Linked DNA regions of Homo sapiens: all the other regions are linked to region 1. The links are contacts of gene promoters, found by promoter capture Hi-C in blood cells and fetal thymus (Javierre and others, 2016). All regions are on one chromosome and are shown on one strand. Each heading gives the region's core, a stretch centred on a gene start or on the middle of the fragment in contact. The rest is flanking DNA. Distances are from core to core; before and after follow the strand shown. Region 1 holds the start of UBQLN1 (ubiquilin 1). Region 2 has its middle 100 kb from the start of SLC28A3-AS1. Region 3 overlaps FRMD3-AS1 (FRMD3 antisense RNA 1). Region 4 overlaps FRMD3 (FERM domain containing 3). Region 5 overlaps FRMD3 (FERM domain containing 3). Region 6 overlaps FRMD3 (FERM domain containing 3).

Region 1 (2,700 bases), core at 102-2,601:
TATGGAAAACACGACGTATTCAACAATACACTAAAATTATTTGTTAAATTCCACCAAGAATCTTAATTAACTGCAAGATTTGTATTCCTGAACCAAGTTTAAGTAATATTCTGCATTCACTCCGATTTTCTTTTATTTGATTGCAACCGCTAATATCAACATCGCTATCGCCCCTCTAAAATCAAACAAAAACCTACCCAATGATTGGCATCTAAGAGATGATAAACATACTAAAAGGGAAAGAGCAAGTCATCAGTGAAAGAAAGTCATTCACTTTTCTCCTTAAACCTAGTACTATCACTATTACTTAAGATGGAGCTAAAAACAGTTTCTACGTCATAATTTTTTTTTAAAGGTTGCAAGGTGGGAAAGATTTCAGGAGTTAAAATGCAGAACTAAATATACACATGCACCTCACCCCAAAACCCACCTTAACAAGCAGGCACGTAAAACAACGAGGATCCCACCCACCCCTTTTTAATTCATGAAACAAAACCGCAGCCTGAGCTAAAGCGAACCCTCGCCCCCGCCCAGCCTCCACCCCGCCCGGAGGCTGGCGGTGGGTCCCTTTCCTTTGTGAGGAGTTGGAGGGGAGGCGACGGAGGGCGGGGAACTGGGGGAGGAGGCTGAGGGTCGGCGGATACCAGAGAAGGAAGGCTCCGAGAAAAGCGGCATCAGCCCGTCCCACAAACAGGCCGCGCCGCCACGCCACAAACCATTGCGGTGTCCCAAGGCGCAAACCCACGAACTTGGGTGTGATCTAATTTGGGACGACGCCCGGGAGAATGGCCGAGGACGACCCCTCTCCCAGGCCCTTCCAAAAGGTCTCCTGGGGCGGCGGGCGGAGGTCCTGCCGCCACCCCCATCCCGGCCCGAGCCCCAGGCGGCCTCACCTGCTGGACGGAGCTATTCTCGGGCACGGCGAATTCCTCCTTTTCCTTCGGGGTCTTCACGGTGACTTTCATGATTTTGGGCTCCGCGGAGGCAGCGGCCGCGGGGGCGCCAGCACCTTCGGCTCCGGCGGCGCTATCCTGGGAGCCCGGAGGACCGCCGCTTTCACCACTCTCGGCCATGGCTGTGGCGGCGGCGGCGGCGGTGACTCAGGCAAGCAGGAGGGAGCAGGCGAGCAAGGAGGAGCCAGCAGACACCAGAGCCGGCAGGCCTGGACAGCGAAGAATGCAGAGCACGCCGCCTCAGTAGCAACGGGCGCAGGGCCACCGTAGCGGGTGTGGGGCCCCGGAGCTCGGTGCAGGCTCTGGCGCAGGCCCGGGTCAGGCGCTCGGCAGCCGCCGTGTGTTCAGGCGCCGCTCGCTCACACCGACATCCGCAGCAGCCACCGCTTCCTCCTCCCTGCCCCTTCCCCCACGTCCCTTCGCCGGCGCCGCGCGGAGCACGCCGGGTAACGCGCCTGGCGGCGTCGCCGAGTCATCCCCGGCTGGCGCGACTTTGAGCTCAGCCTGCGTGCCTTTTCCTTTCCCGCTCCATTGCCCAAAGTGCAGGCGAAGCCAGTGTGAAGGACTAAAAGCAAAATGGGGCGGGGTAGGTCAGTTCATGGTTTTTTTCCACTCCTTTCACCAAAAACTAAATCGCAGTTTCCAGTTAAGCGCTGTAACGGCGCACCGAGATGACGTCACGGTTAGCGAAATTACTAGAAAGGGACCAGTGGGCCCTGCGGCCGCGGCTGCGCCTGCGCGCTTGCTGTCCAGGTAGTCTCCCCACCTTACCTCATGCCCAGCTGGGCCGTGTTCACCCCTCCGCGCTGTCACAATCGCCTTGCCCTCCCTTGCCTCTCTGTCTACTCTGCGTTCCCCGCTGGGAGGAGGGTCTGGTGATAAAATAGCGGCGAGGTATTTTGTTATTTTAATATGCTTAGCGTTTGATATTTGGAGGGGTCGTATTGCCCTATGCGGGGGAGTTGGGGTAAGTTAATGGTGGAAAGGCCTCAGCACAACGAACAGAAAATGGAGTGAACGCCCGTGACTGCCCTGCGCAATCCTGCGGAGTCATTGCTTCATGGCCAGAGCTTATTTACCGCCCTCGGGTTAGCCCGGTTTGGTCAGACGATCAGTCAGGCAACCTGTATTGACAGTGGCCTCTGCTGCTACGATGACAGCTGTGCGCGAGCGCCCCCAGATTATCTGTGTGTAGGGCGGAACAGGGTGCCCGAGGAGTGTCCACCCAAATGGGACAATTTAATATAGTTGAGGTGTTCGCCTTATATTCTATCAAATTAAGTTACTGGTCAATTTCAGGCTTTAAGTGGCATTAAGGATAGTTCCAAAATTATTTTCAGTGTAATACAGAGAGAAATTATCTCTGAGAATCCTAATTTGAAATGACGTCATTGGCTTTTAAAGATGACTTGCAAGGAATGTACAAACCAGCCCATTATTAATCAATGTTGCACAATTTAAATCCTGACAGCCCACTATGACCCAAATCCGCAAAGATACATTCTGCCTTTCTGCTCCTAAGCCGTCCAACCCTGTTCTGAGAATAAATACTGTTACATAAACACGACTTTTTAGCAGAGCTCTATGGAATCTGGGTCTAAGAGAATCCTGAGGGTATCGATTTCAGTATAGACATCATTTGATATCACCTAAATTTCTGGCAGCATGGCTCAATAACAAGGCCTTCTGCTTAATGAAGGATGACTACTTGGTTATGTCCAGGTGTGAGATGATCACTGCTTCTAAA
Region 2 (2,700 bases), core at 103-2,602, 470 kb after region 1:
TGCAGTTCCTCGCTGTGCTGATGGCTTCTGTTTTTTGTTTGTTTGTTTTTTGAGACGGAGTCTCGCTCTGTCACCAGGCTGGAGTGCAGTGGCGCAATCTCGGCTCACTGCAATCTCCGCCTCCCGGGTTCAAGCGATCCTCCTACCTCAGCCTCTCGAGTAGCTGGGACTACAGGCGCCCGCCACCATGCCGAGCTAATTTTTTGTATTTTTAGTAGAGACGGGGTTTCACCATGTTGGTCAGGAAGGTCTTGATCTCTTGACCTCGTGATCCGCCCACCTCGGCCTCCCAAAGTGTTGGGATTACAGGCGTGAGCCACCGCGCCCGGCCCGGCCTGTGCTGACGGCTTCTTAACTGCAAATGTCTGTAACTCAGATTGCAGGAGCTGGCTTGCCCACCTTCACAGCGGGCCTGCAGTGGTAGGAGTTAATGGTCACATCCACGAGAGTAGCTTTCAAAGAATGACGAAGGGAAGATGGTGGGTAAAACTCTGAGGCTCATTCTCCAGCTTTCTTAGGGGGTCCGCAGGGATGCAACCCCAAAGACCGTAATGCTCCCTGGATTGACTTTCCTCTCTTCACACTTATTTCCCCGGCCCCCTAGTGGTGCTTCTTGGGAACACCTCTCAAATAGATGATTTGTACTCTAGTCCTAGTCTCAACCCAACCTAAAACAATGGCACATGGGCACATACTTTTATTTTAATGGCCATGTGTTTTAACATGTATTAGAAAAAATATAAATTGCACACCGTATCTGTGATTTCATGGATATTAGTGAAGCTTAAGTTTCAAAAGTGAGTCAATTTAAACCGAAGTGGAAAGTAATGGTATTCGGGTATTTGACAAATCACAAAGGGAGAGTGTGAATGGGGGATAATTGTATTAGAGCTTGAGGTTACCTGTAAACTGGAGCGCTTCCAGCTTTCTGGAATAAACTCAAGGACACTGGTCCTTAATTCAGTGTTCCTGAAAAGACTCCCAGGGGCTCACCAGCCCTTGAGAGATTATGCAAAGTTTTATGTATTTGGATCCTCTTCCTCCCAAAAGTTCATTTGCCTTAGTCTTAGAAAGGCATATTTCACTCAAAGTCAAGAGAGAGAGAGAGAGAGGAAAAAAAAAAGGAAGGAAGAGAGGGAGAGGGGGAGGACAGGCAGACACTCTGTTTTTCTATTTTATTAATGTAATTCAGATCTCTGTTTCTGTTGCAAAAAAGCAAAAAATAAAACAAAGGAGAGGAATGAGGAGATGGAGCCCTGATCCAAATAACAACAACAACAAAAAAAGTGTCTGTAGAATTGGGTTACTGGATGACTTCGGGGAGATGAGCTATCCATCACCACCCGCATCCTCAATAAAAAAACCTGGAAATATCTTCTGAGGATTTTTGCTTGTTAGGAAGGATGGCTATAGCCCAAGAGCAGCATCTGTATACAATGAGTGAAAAAATATTTGGTAACAAAGATCCATTAAACACCCAAATCTACCAAGTATCAGATGGCAAGATAAATGAGATTTTTGTACATGCAAAGCAAATTTTATATAAACAATAACCAAGGCAGTTCCTGTTGCTTCATAAAGCAGGACTTCTGTTAATAGCAGAAACAGCAAATACAGAAAACCAAGCCAATGCATTTTAATGCCTGATTTTGATGCATTAAAAAAATCAAGAAATTCAACAATTCACAGCCAATTGTATATTCATGCCACCCAGACTGAATTAGGATTAGAATCAGCTGTGAGCAACAGAAAATCCAAAATAATGAGTGGTGGAACAAAGATGGAAATTTATTTTTTTCATGTGAAAGTCTGAGTAAATGGTCTAGGGGCTGGTGTGATTATTCATAATACCAGGGAACATTGAATGGCTTCTCCAGTTCAAGCCATCATGTCCCCATTCCAGCCAGCAGAAAGGAGGAAAAGAAGCTTCCCTATAAGGACACTTCTGTGATGTTGCATACACCACTTCCTCTTACATTTCTTTGCCTAGAACTTAATAACTTGACCACACCTATCTGCAAGAGAGGGTAAGAAATGCAGTTATTATTCTGGGAGTTCATATGCTCAGCTAAAAATTCTCTTGCTGTGGAAGAAGAGAATAGATATTGGGTAATACCAGCAGTCTCATCTACCCAGATTTCGTACATATTGGTAGTTCTAAGTAGTTAACTTTGGCATGATACTCAACTGTAAGTCTTATTTAATGTGTCAATGAAATTGCTTGACCCTAATCACCCAGTTTTTAAAGCTGCCTCTAATTAAATCTTTTCTGACATCCACAAATAAAGCATATTTTTCATTTTGAGTATCTGTCTACTTGATGCTGGACAAAATTCGGCCCACCTAGAATAGCAGGTATAGTTTGTGGGTTATCGAAACCCTTTGTTCTCTCTCCTTTTCTGTTCAACATACTTGTGGCCACTTTCCCATTAGTTAAAGTCTGAAATAGAGAAAGAAAGATTTAAAAAAGAAATAAAGTCTAATCAGATGTTTTGTTCCTTTTCAGCAACATTTCTCCAGGGCTAAAGTAGAAGAGATTAGAAATAAGTAACATTAAGTTTTGGGATTTATCTGTCATAAAAACAGTCCTTTAGGCCAGTTGATGAGCAAAGCCCTTTTCACTGCCATCTGTAATTGTGGCTGCAGCCCTGTGAAGAAGGCAGTGTCATCTCCACTTGAGCGAAGAGATGAAACTTACCA
Region 3 (2,700 bases), core at 82-2,581, 470 kb before region 1:
CATCGAACATTTATCAAAAGGTAAATAGCACAGGACAGAGGACCAGAAAAAAGAAAGTCACGCAGAGAAAGAAATCAGGAGACCTTGCATTTGTAACTTGACTATACATTTGCAATATACTCCCTACTTTGAACAACTTAGAAAAAAACATTTCTTTCTTACAAACACAGTTTCCTCCTGAAAGGAATTTTGATGTATTCTATTTTCTGATGTCTTACTATTTTGGATGTGTATCCACGTTATAGGCAACGAGATGTTTTGTTTATAAATAAATGTAGAAGAAAAATAGATGTTTTTTAGAAGCAAATTCTGGTTCTTGTTATATCTTCTGAAACTTCCAAATCCAATTTTGTTATGCATTGCCACCATGATGCTATTACTTCAGTAGAACAGGATGTCCTCAAAGAGTGAAATGGTTACGATGAGTCTAGAATGACCTGGAGGTGCCAGATTATGGGCCTTAACTCCTAGCATTTCTCAAGTAGTTACTACATGTCCAAGACTTTGCTAAGGGATTTGCAAATTCTAACTTATTTTTAAATTCCATAACAGCTCTGAGATAAGTGCTGTAGTTAAACATAATTTTAAAGATGAGGATGCCAAGAATTCAAGAGATCAAATGAGTTACCTAAAGTTACACCTAAGAAGAGCAGGAAAGCTGAGACCAGAGCTGAGGCCATCTGGCTGGAGAGCCTGAGCTCTTAGCCATCATATTACACCGACTTTCTGTTCCAGATATGCCAGCTACTTCTATCTTTATATCAGTATCTCCTAGGCAGCAATTTTATACTCTGGCCTTTTGTCATTTTTACAGAAGCACTAATAATGATGCACAAAATTATTTTGTGTAAAAAAATTAAAATTTTTGTTTTTAATAGTTTTTGTAGAATCTATTAAAATATTAATATTCATAGTTCATAAGAAAATATTAATAGTTATTTCATAATAGCTTAAGTAACTATTGAACAAAAGTTAAAAATTTATTAGAAGTAAATATCAATGGTATAAATCAAATTATTTAATCTTTATGCACAAATATTACTTATCGCTAAAATGAAACTGGGTTCAGCATTATCTATTTTTCATTTTGATAGAATTAAGTACTGACAAAACTTGCTGACAAATAGAAATGGAAAGGTTCTTGGTTATAATAAAGCTACTCAACTCGTACTCCTCACAAAATATGTTAAAAAATAACATAGTGAACCACAACAAATATAATTTTTGCTAACAGCTTTGTTGAGCTATAATTAACATACCATAAATAATGCATAAAATTCATTGGTCTTTGTTCACAGAGTCATGCGACCATCGCAACTACATAATTCAAAGAAAAATTTTATCACCCAAAAAAGAAACTCTGTACCTATTAGCAGTCATTCTTCATTCTCCCTACCCGTGGAAATCACTAATCTACTTTCTGTCTCTATAGATTTGCCTATTCTGGACATTTTATATAAATCAAATCATGCAATAGATGGCCTTTTGCTTTTGGCTTCTTTTACTTAGCATAATGTTTTCAAAGTTCATCCATGGTGTAGCGTGTACCAATACTTCATTCATTTTTATGGAATGGATACACTACATTTGTTTATGCAATTTACGAACCGATGGACATACGGGTTGTTTCCACTTCTGTGCTATTATGCAAAGTGCTGCTATGAAAATTACCCATTTTTTTGTGTAAATATATGTTTTCTGTTCTCTTGAGTATATACCTAAGAGTGGAATTGCTGGCTTGTATGGTAACCTTATGCTTAACTTTTTGAAGAACTACGAAACTGTTTTCCAAAGTAGCTGCACAATTTTTTTTTTTTTTAGACGGAGTCCCGCTCTTTCGCCCAGGTTGGAGTGCAGTGGCGCGATCTCGGCTCACTGCAAGCTCTGCCTCCCGGGTTCACGCCATTCTCCTGCCTCAGCCTCCGGAGTAGCTGGGACTACAGGCGCCCGCCACAGCGCCCGGCTAATTTTTTGTATTTTTAGTAGAGACGGGGTTTCACCGTGTTAGCCAGGATGATCTCGATCTCCTGACCTCGTGATCTGCCCGCCTCGGCCTCCCAAAGTGCTGGAATTACAGGTGTGAGCCACCGCGCCCAGCCTAGTAGCTGCACAATTTTACATTTTTACCAGGAATATATGAGGGTTTCAATTTATCCACATCCTCAGCAACACTTCGTGGCCTGTCTTTTTATTATAGCCATTCTTGTGGGTGTAAAGTAGAATCTCAATGTGGCACTGATTTGCATTTCTTTAATGACTAATGATATTGGACATCTTTTCGTGTGCTTACTATCCATTTGCATATTTCCTTTACCAAAATGTCTATTGTGATAACATTTCCTACTTTAAAAATTGGTTATGTTTTTTATTACTGAGTTGTAAGTATTCTTTATGTATTATGGGTACAAATTCATTATCGGATGTATGATTTAAAAATATTTTCATCCCTTCAGTGTTTTGTCTTTTCACTTTTCTTGACAGTGTCTTTTAAAGCACAAAAGTTTTTAAATTTATCTATTACTATCTAATTTACCTATTTTTTATTTTGTCTCTAGTGCTTTTGCTGTCCTTAGAAACCATCCTCTCTAATCAAAGGTTACAAAGATCTGATCTTATGTTTCTTCTAAAAGTTTTGTAAATTTTATTAAACACAAGGTCTCTGATTTATTTTGTGCTAATTTGTGTATACAGTGTGAGAAA
Region 4 (2,700 bases), core at 45-2,544, 300 kb before region 1:
TGCACACAAAGAAAAACAGCAGCCCAAAGATTCCAGCTAGGGCTCTTAGGATGGAGGAAAGTTCCCACAGGTAACTCACTGGTTAATTTTAAAGAGCTCAGGAAAGGAAGGAAGGATGGCTTTTTCTCTTGTGAGTCAAGACAAGGTCCTGATGATAACCCTCCCAGATCAGAACGTAACTTTCAACCCACGAGTGCTGCTCCCCCAAGTTATATGCATCATCTCAGAGAGTTGGTTCCTTGCCATTGGGCAATTGACATGTTGTCAACGGGTCCTTATTTGGTGGTCAGTAAATGTTAGCCAGCATCGGTGAGGACACAGCCCATAGAAGAGAGCAGAGAAATCCAGAAATGTAAACTGTATGTATCTCTTCTTCAAGTTGCTGGGTTTTATTTTGTTGTTGTTCCTGTTGTTGTTTTCTGTTTAATTTATTTTCCATATTTTCCTCCAGTTTATTTTATCACTCCAAATACTCCGCAAAATGCCCCACCACCATGGTTGGTTTCACTCTTGCCATTCCCCTGTGTGAATAAAGCCCTTCTCACCACCTATCAAAATTTTGTCACTGATGTGTTCACCTGATCCTGGCAGAGAGTTCGCTGCAGATCCTGCTTCTGCATGAGAGGCCTCACAGACTCCCCACACCCTCGCTGACCTTTCTGTCCTCTGACCTCATTTGGAAATGGATGAAATACTGTCACGGTCATTTCTCATGATGGTGTAATTCCAGTTTCATCACTTATCTTAAGCTTCCTTTTCTCAAGTGAACTTATTTTTCATCAAGTTTTTCATTGTACTTTACAGGATAATTTGTACACACAGTAAATACTTGGTACAAATATTCATTAAACCATAACAAAGCACCATTTTTACCTATCCACTTCCCAAATCCAAAAATTCTAAAAATGGCCAACCCCAACAAGGATATAATGGTGGAATTGCATACTACTAGAAGTCTAAATTATGGGAGAAAATTGTGTAGATATAACTTAGGGAATTTTTAATCTCTGTATTTCCCCCAGCCTCCACTCCCACTTTAAAAAGGCATTCGGCTCCACAATCCCTACCCTCCTTGGAGGCTATATGTAGCAGAATGAAAATTAGTAGCTGGTGAGACCTCTTGGATTTTGTTTTCATATGTCTAAATCCACTGAGAATAGAATATGAGAAGTGTTCTAGTTATCTGTTCCTGTGTAACAAGCCACTCTAAAACATAGGAGCAAAAACCAATAAGTATTCTCTCACAGTTCTTTGTATTGACTGAGCTCAACTGGATGGATCTTGTCTGGGTTCCTCTATATTACTGGAGTCTGATGTGGAAGCAACTGAAGATTTCTTCACTCACATGTCTGGTGCCTAGACTGGTCTGGCCAGCAGAGGAGGGGGGTTGTTGAGTCTCTCTCTCTCTCTCTCTCTCTCTCTCTCTCTCTCATCTTTCTCTCTCTCTCTCTCTCTCTCTCTCATCTTTCTCTCTCCCTCCCCTTTCTCTTTCTCTTTCTCTCCATGCAGCTCTCCATGTGTGTAGCTAGCTTGGGCTTCCTTACACCATGGCAGTCTCCAGGAAGCCAGACTTCTCCATCAGCAGCCAGCCTCCTGCAAGATGAGCATTCCCAAAGGGTCCAGGCAGAGGTTGCTTTTCACACATTGTCACTTCCACTGCATTCTACTGATTACAAGTGAGTCACTATGGCCAACCTGGATTCAAGGGAAAGGGAATTAAACATGTCCTCTCAACGAGATGAAAGCAAAGAATGTATGGCTATCTTTATTTAATGTGCCACAGGGGAATAAAAGATTCTTCTTTCAGATTAAAACGAAGAAAGGAACAAGCTGTATGAACCAAGCTTGCTCCCTGGATGTGCTCTGTGTTGGCACAAGGATATTCGGGAGGAAAAATATGGTCTATCTAGGAAAAAAAAAATATCACAAACATGGGGCTTTCTGCCCTCACCAGGTTGTCATGTCCTAAGAACCCCCACTGGGCCCAAGGGTCAGGCTGATGTGGACATCTAGCCAATAATGAACATGCCTCCCTCCCATTTCTTGGCACCCAGTGAGACTCCAGAAACTAGGCACAACCCCCAGGTGGGGGAAAGTTCAGAAAAGACACATGAAAATGTTTCCAGCTACCCCAGGGGGAAAGGGGCTTGATATGAAAACTAGGTTGATTTATGGAAAATAGATTACTGTATCTCTTCCAGCCTGGGTTTGGGAACTGACCTTGGTGTCAACCCCTAAATTTTATTTCTTCTGACTTGACTCTTCAGTGAAGTCATTCTGCCTCTCAGGTTGAGCCTTCTGCATCCTCTCCTTTCATCACTAATTACCAGAGCAGAGTTAAGCTGCTACCACAGGCACCCTCGGACACAATCCATGCAGAAACACGTGAACTGGAAGATTAACCATTCAGGTGCAGGGAAGATGGTGGGGAGACCACACACAGCTCAATTTGGAAATGGATTTCCCATTCCCTCCTGAGAAAGAGGCGAGAAGGAAGAGAGCAGCAACCCTGCCAGAGCCAACATAGTGTGCAATCCATTGTCCTGAAAGTCTACCCAGGCAGCTCAAAGAATGCTGCGATAAATTACATACACCTCTCTATTGCCCCCAAAGAATCAGTTCCATGCAGGTCAGCAGCATACTCGGGAAAGCAAAGGTTGTCCATCCCCAGGCATGGAGGTCAACCTTTTCTCCACCAGG
Region 5 (2,700 bases), core at 65-2,564, 410 kb before region 1:
GCAGTGATGATCAGAAGGAATTCTCCCCTAATTTCTATCTGAAGATATGGAGAAGAGGGAATTTTGTGACATGGCATCAGGAAGTTCGTGGTTGTTAGGGCACTTTGCTGCCTATTCCTGTATCCACAGTGAGGCAGAAAACAGCTTCCTGGCAACAGAGGTCACTGACTATGCCACGAAGAACTCACTGTGCATTGCCCAAGTGAGGGAACAAGGGTCCCGCATCACCACAGGAATGGTCACTGGCTTCTGTGTCACCATGACCCAGTGCCCTTTAAAAGAACCCACAGTGGTAGATGACTAAGATACACGAGGCAGAAGCTGCCCAGACAAGAACTGATTCAGCACCTCTGAGCCCTACTCGTAAATAAGAGCAAAACAACAACACTCTGAAAAGCAGCCTAGAGCCTGGGCTGCCGGAAGGCTGCACACAGGGCACTAAATTACTGTGACAGCTGAGGATGGCTCTACAGCAGTCATGTTAAGCCTTGTACAATTAAATCCAACAAGTTAGAAAGAACAGGTCTCAGAGAGTTCAGCATCGTTTAAAATATTGATAGTCACAAAATCTTAAACACACACAGACAAAATCAATATGATCTGTAGCATCCTGAGCAAAGACATGCACGGAGCCAGGGAAGTTTCAGCGCAGTGATCCCCACCCTTGAGCCTCTTGAAGCTTCCTTTATTCACTCAGCAATCATTAACTGAGTGCCATCCCTGCTCTACACACCAAGGTAAGTACAAGAAAGACACATGGCTGATCTAGCCTGGGGGCCAGAGAAGATGCCCTGAGGAAGGGACATCTGAGTTGAGATCCAGAGGCTGAAAGGTGTTAACCAGGGCACGGTGCAAGTGGTGGTGGATATACCCAGCAGAGGGCCAGCAGGCGCAAAGCCATCAGCCTAAACATCTAGAGAACTCAAAACACTCAATTATTCTAAGTTAAGCAACTCAGGAATGGAAAACCAAAAATTCTATATTCTCACTTCTAAGTGGGAGCTAAGCTATGCATATGCAAAGGCATACAGAGTGATATAATGGACTTTATAGACTCAGAAGGGGAGGGTAGTAGGGGCCAGGGATAAAAACTACACATTAGGTGCAATATACACTAATTGACAGGTGCTCCAAAATCTCAGAATTTACCACAATATAATTCATCCATGTAATTGAAAACCATTTGTACCCCAAAAGGTATTGAAATTTTTTAAAAATATATAAAATACATTTTTAAAAGACTCAATGCACATTTTCCCATGTTATTATTACTACACACACACATATTTTTTTTCCTTTCCTAATAAAGATAAGTGAATGTACAGATGTACGAAGGAGAATAAGGCAAACTTGGACAGAGAGCCAGAATCCAATTTCCCAGGACCAGACCTTAAGTGGTCCTTGTTAAGGATCTTGGTCTTTATCGAGAGAACAATGGAAAGCCATAGGAACAATCTTTTGCAAAGAAGCCCCTTCCCACCACCTGTGTAAACAGCCAAAGATGACACAGAAGGGCACTGGACACAAATATTAAGCAGGGAGAGTAAGATGGGCAAGGGAGGGCACAGGGCTTGGCAGGGGGATCCTGTCAGGGCAGGGCCCAGAGAAAATGGTACAGGACCCCTGAGGACACACAGAGGCACGTGAGAGCCATGGCCCTGGGGGGGGCCCTGCAGTGTGCTGGCTGGAGCTTCCTTCCAGACCACACCCACTCACGAGGCTAGAAACCCCCAGCAAGCTGCATTGAGATGGTCCCAGCTGTGCCCTCCACCTCCTATGAGGACATGCCTGCTCTGGGTCCATCTGCACCCCCTAAAACTCCCCACTAGCCCTACAGAGCTGTGGCCTGACACTTTATCTACTGGAGCCTGAGAAAAGGACAATCACCTCTGCCCTCTCCCCATCTTCTTGGAAGGGTTGCTCCCAAGTCCTCAAAGATTGGGAGAAGAGAAAGCTTTAAAGAAGCTTCTATTTTTTATTGTGTATGTGTTTTTTTTTAATTCCAAGTTCCTAAAGATCCTTGGGACAAAGTGGTTGGCTTAAAAAAAAAAAAAGATTGAGTTTCTTAATTGGGTTTTTAAAATTCAAACTCAACACTTTGCCCATTCTACAGAAGCGACACGTGAAGCCGGCAAAGCCGGCGCAGGTGTGAGTCAACCTCCTGGCCACTCAGGTGGCTCTTTTTCACTAGTTTGGCCTTAGCTCTGGCCCTTCCAGGCCCCAGGAGGAAGCCACTATCATCGGCTTGAACCCAGACTGGCCTCTTAGAGGGAAGTCTCAGTCTCAGTACTGCTTCCCAAAAACCCTCAAAGTGACTCAAAAGAAGCAGGTCAAAAGATACATTTCACAAAGATGGCCAGTAGCTGTATGCTCAGGATGAGCAGAGAGAAAAGACTGTGCGTCTTTCTGGCTGCGGGTTCCCCTGGAGGAGTATCTGCAGGTGATCTGATTTGCTCAGAGACAGTTGCCTCAGAGCATTCCCACGAATCCCCTGCCCTCCCAAATGTCCAGGTGAACTCCCAGAATGTTTCAGCTGAGATTTTTAATGAAACGTTAACAGGCAGTTTATTCTGAGAGCTCAAATGACACCCATGCACTGGGAATTGGGAAACAAGGCTGTAGAGGGGAGGGGAATGGAGAGAGGAGAAAGAATGGTGGCCAGGTTAAAGTACATGAATCCGGAGTACCAGATCCCAAACC
Region 6 (2,700 bases), core at 19-2,518, 370 kb before region 1:
GGCATTTTTCCTAGAAAAACTCTAGGTGCAAAAAAAGGATATGTTCAAGGTTTTTTTTATGACAGCATTAATCATAATAGTCAGAAGTTGGAGGCAACTTGGGTGTTTATTGTTAGTGGGACAGCTAGATAAGTAAAACATGGAAGACGCACCCTTTGGGACACTCTGTCACAGTTAAAATCAACAAAATAAGATGTACGTATGCAATATGGACAGATCCCAAAAGCAGTGTTCTGAGCGTAAGAAGGAGGGAATACAATGAGTTCTATAGCATCATTTAATTTATGAAATTTAGAAGTATAGACACAAAAAAACAATATTAATCATTTTATAAGGATGGATACAAAGACAAAGATATGTATATGAACCCAGCATTGCCCTTAGGAGTGGAAATGGAGAATAATGGAAAAAGGGAAATCAATCAATCAATCCATGGGCCTAAAGGGACCAATGATGAGAGGTGGGCCATAAACTGATGATTAACTCAACCTATGTTCCAAAAGAAATACACGTAACATGTCCACCTTTACACACATACACGCTTGTGCCCCTGTGAGCTAGCTACAGGCATTAATATTTAGGAGATGGACGATCCCAGTGCTTCCATTTTCCATAGGTAATTTCCAAAGGTGATGGGACAATGGACCACCAATATGAAACTGGGTCATCTTCAATGCAAATGTCAGCTTGCAGAGTGGTTGGTGAGGGAGGGCATCGTTTTTCAGGGTGCCCTTTTCTTTCCAGGAAATCTTGTGAGATATTATAGACTTGCAATGCTACACACTGCAAATGTTAGAAAAGTTAGAGAAGAAATGCTGTGAAGACTGCACCGGATTGCTGACAAGATTAACACTGTCCCCATCACAGGCCCTGCTCTGATTCCCTAAAGCTTGTCTTTAACTCTGACCTCTCCTTAAGCAGAAGGCAGGTTTTTTAAAATGAATAAAGATTTCTAGCTATTCATACCAAGAGGAGTTGGGTAAGCCGCCATGGTTCTCCCTCCTGCTCATGACTTGGAAGTTGAAGTCGTGACAAATGACATACAACTGGAGGCCCTGCGGTTTGAAACCAGCTCTAGCACTTTTCTAAAAGGATTCAATTCTAAGAGAAAAATCCAATGAGTTTGAAGTGAATGGGTGAGTAAGGTCAGAAACAGTAAGTCTAAAAAGCAACAGGCTTTCCCCTGGTTTGGAAAGGACTCATTCCAAAAGAATTTGAGATGCAGGACCTTTAGCTCCAGGGCCAACTCCTTCAGGAGCTTTCCCTGACCCATGCTTGCTAAGTCAGGAGCCCTCCTGGGACACTCATAGCAGGGACTGGGCCTGTGTGTTCCTCCATCTAACCAACAACGCAGGGTCACAATGGCCTGTTTCCTTATCCATCTTCCCACAGGAACTTTGTATTGCCATGTGGCCCCCTAGCAACTTCTCAGGAAGTATTTGGAGAACACATGAACAAATGAATGAATGAGGTAGTGATACCATCCCAGCAGGCGGCCAACCAGTCTTTCCCATAGTTAAATGAATCAGGCACAATCATTTAACTAAATGTTAAATGAATCAGGCACAGTCATTTAACGAAATGTTAAATTTAAACGTTAAATGGTTGTGACTAATTTAATTAACCATGGTTAATCAGGGCAAGTTTGAAGCTTCAGTATATTCTGAGTTTATTAAAAACAGTCAATCAAGCCAGGTGTGGTGGTGCACACCTGTAATCCCAGTTACTTGGGAGGCTGAGGTAGGAGGATTGCTTGAGGTCAGAGTTTGAGACCACCCTGAGTAACACAGTGAGATCCTGCCTACAAAAAAATACAAAACCTGTCAATCACCTGGAGTTTAGGCAAGTGCCCCGATTCATTTCAGGCAAGTGCCCTGATTCATTTAACATATTTAGTGGAGAACCTGCTGTGTGCCAGACACAGGAAGAGTGCTGTGAAAAAGCACCCAGATCCTACTCCCATGGAATTAGATTCTATATAAGAGGAAATGCACAATAAGCCCAAAAACAACTCAAGATCTAAGTGTTTGCAAGAAAACACAACAGGGCTCTGAGAAAGAATGACGTGCAGGAGGGAGCTGCTTTAGCTCGAGTGGTCCAGGTAGACTTACCAGAGGAAGTGACTTCGGGACTGAGTTCTGAATATCCAGCAGGAGTCAAGATTTCTACAGGGGTTGAACATACCAGGCAGAGGAGATAAGTTGAATTCCTCTGTGGTGTTGTTTTGTAAAAGGAACAGGAAAGATATTTTTACCAAGAAAGAATATAAATAGATCCCAAGGATTCTGTGTTTGTTTTGCAATTTGTATTATGAAAGAAAATGCATTGCATGTCTTAAATATGCTCGTTGGATTCAGTATGTACAGGCAGCAAAACTCCAGGTGATTGACTGGTTTTGTATTCCTTGTGGAGACAAGGTCTTGTCTATGTTGCCCAGGCTAGTATCAAACTCCTGGCCTCAAGAAATCCTCCTGCCTCAGCCTCCCAAGTAGCTGGAATTACAGGTGTGCACCACCACATCCAACTTGATTGACTGTTTTTTATAAACTCAGAATATACTGAAGCTTAAAACATACTCCTTGAAAGAGCATTAGCAAACAAGACGATGAGGGGCGACAGTGCCTCCTGATTGCTAATCACTTACTCCATCTTCCCTATTACTCTGTAAGAATAAGATTGCTAATCACTTACTCCATCTTC

The links. Contacts are between HindIII fragments. The CHiCAGO score rates a contact against its expected background, and 5 or more counts as called.
Region 2: a fragment that was not itself captured here is called in contact with the fragment with the promoter of UBQLN1 in region 1 in 2 of 17 cell types (total CD4 T cells and total CD8 T cells); the score reaches 5.6 in total CD4 T cells.
Region 3: a fragment that was not itself captured here is called in contact with the fragment with the promoter of UBQLN1 in region 1 in 1 of 17 cell types (monocytes); the score reaches 6.1 in monocytes.
Region 4: a fragment that was not itself captured here is called in contact with the fragment with the promoter of UBQLN1 in region 1 in 1 of 17 cell types (monocytes); the score reaches 5.4 in monocytes.
Region 5: a contact is called between a fragment that was not itself captured here and the fragment with the promoter of UBQLN1 in region 1, in 2 of 17 cell types (M1 macrophages and M2 macrophages). The highest score is 5.8, in M1 macrophages.
Region 6: a contact is called between a fragment that was not itself captured here and the fragment with the promoter of UBQLN1 in region 1, in 2 of 17 cell types (erythroblasts and M1 macrophages). The highest score is 5.5, in erythroblasts.

What each region holds. Positions count from the first base shown.
Region 1 is chr9:83,706,607-83,709,306 of GRCh38, forward strand. It overlaps UBQLN1 (ubiquilin 1), which reads right to left and starts at 1,352. Exons shown (of 11, transcript NM_013438.5): 1 at 894-1,352. The coding sequence starts at 1,073. It overlaps UBQLN1-AS1 (UBQLN1 antisense RNA 1), which reads left to right and starts at 1,229. Exons shown (of 2, transcript NR_135839.1): 1 at 1,229-1,706. RefSeq lists enhancers at 375-1,265, 1,033-1,102, 1,266-2,154. The HindIII fragment of the contact is 7,028 bases long and covers 1-2,700 here.
Region 2 is chr9:84,172,683-84,175,382 of GRCh38, forward strand. No RefSeq gene overlaps it. Among named protein-coding and RNA genes, the nearest start is that of SLC28A3-AS1, 100 kb to the right of the region's middle. RefSeq lists an enhancer at 297-806. The HindIII fragment of the contact is 1,143 bases long and covers 782-1,924 here.
Region 3 is chr9:83,235,802-83,238,501 of GRCh38, forward strand. The region is part of intron 2 of FRMD3-AS1 (FRMD3 antisense RNA 1); the gene reads left to right. Among named protein-coding and RNA genes, the nearest start is that of FRMD3-AS1, 18 kb to the left of the region's middle. The HindIII fragment of the contact is 4,774 bases long and covers 1-2,700 here.
Region 4 is chr9:83,406,443-83,409,142 of GRCh38, forward strand. All of the region lies in intron 1 of FRMD3 (FERM domain containing 3), which reads right to left. Among named protein-coding and RNA genes, the nearest start is that of FRMD3, 130 kb to the right of the region's middle. The HindIII fragment of the contact is 1,095 bases long and covers 748-1,842 here.
Region 5 is chr9:83,299,485-83,302,184 of GRCh38, forward strand. The region is part of intron 10 of FRMD3 (FERM domain containing 3); the gene reads right to left. Among named protein-coding and RNA genes, the nearest start is that of FRMD3-AS1, 81 kb to the left of the region's middle. The HindIII fragment of the contact is 1,275 bases long and covers 678-1,952 here.
Region 6 is chr9:83,338,370-83,341,069 of GRCh38, forward strand. The region is part of intron 5 of FRMD3 (FERM domain containing 3); the gene reads right to left. Among named protein-coding and RNA genes, the nearest start is that of FRMD3-AS1, 120 kb to the left of the region's middle. The HindIII fragment of the contact is 762 bases long and covers 888-1,649 here.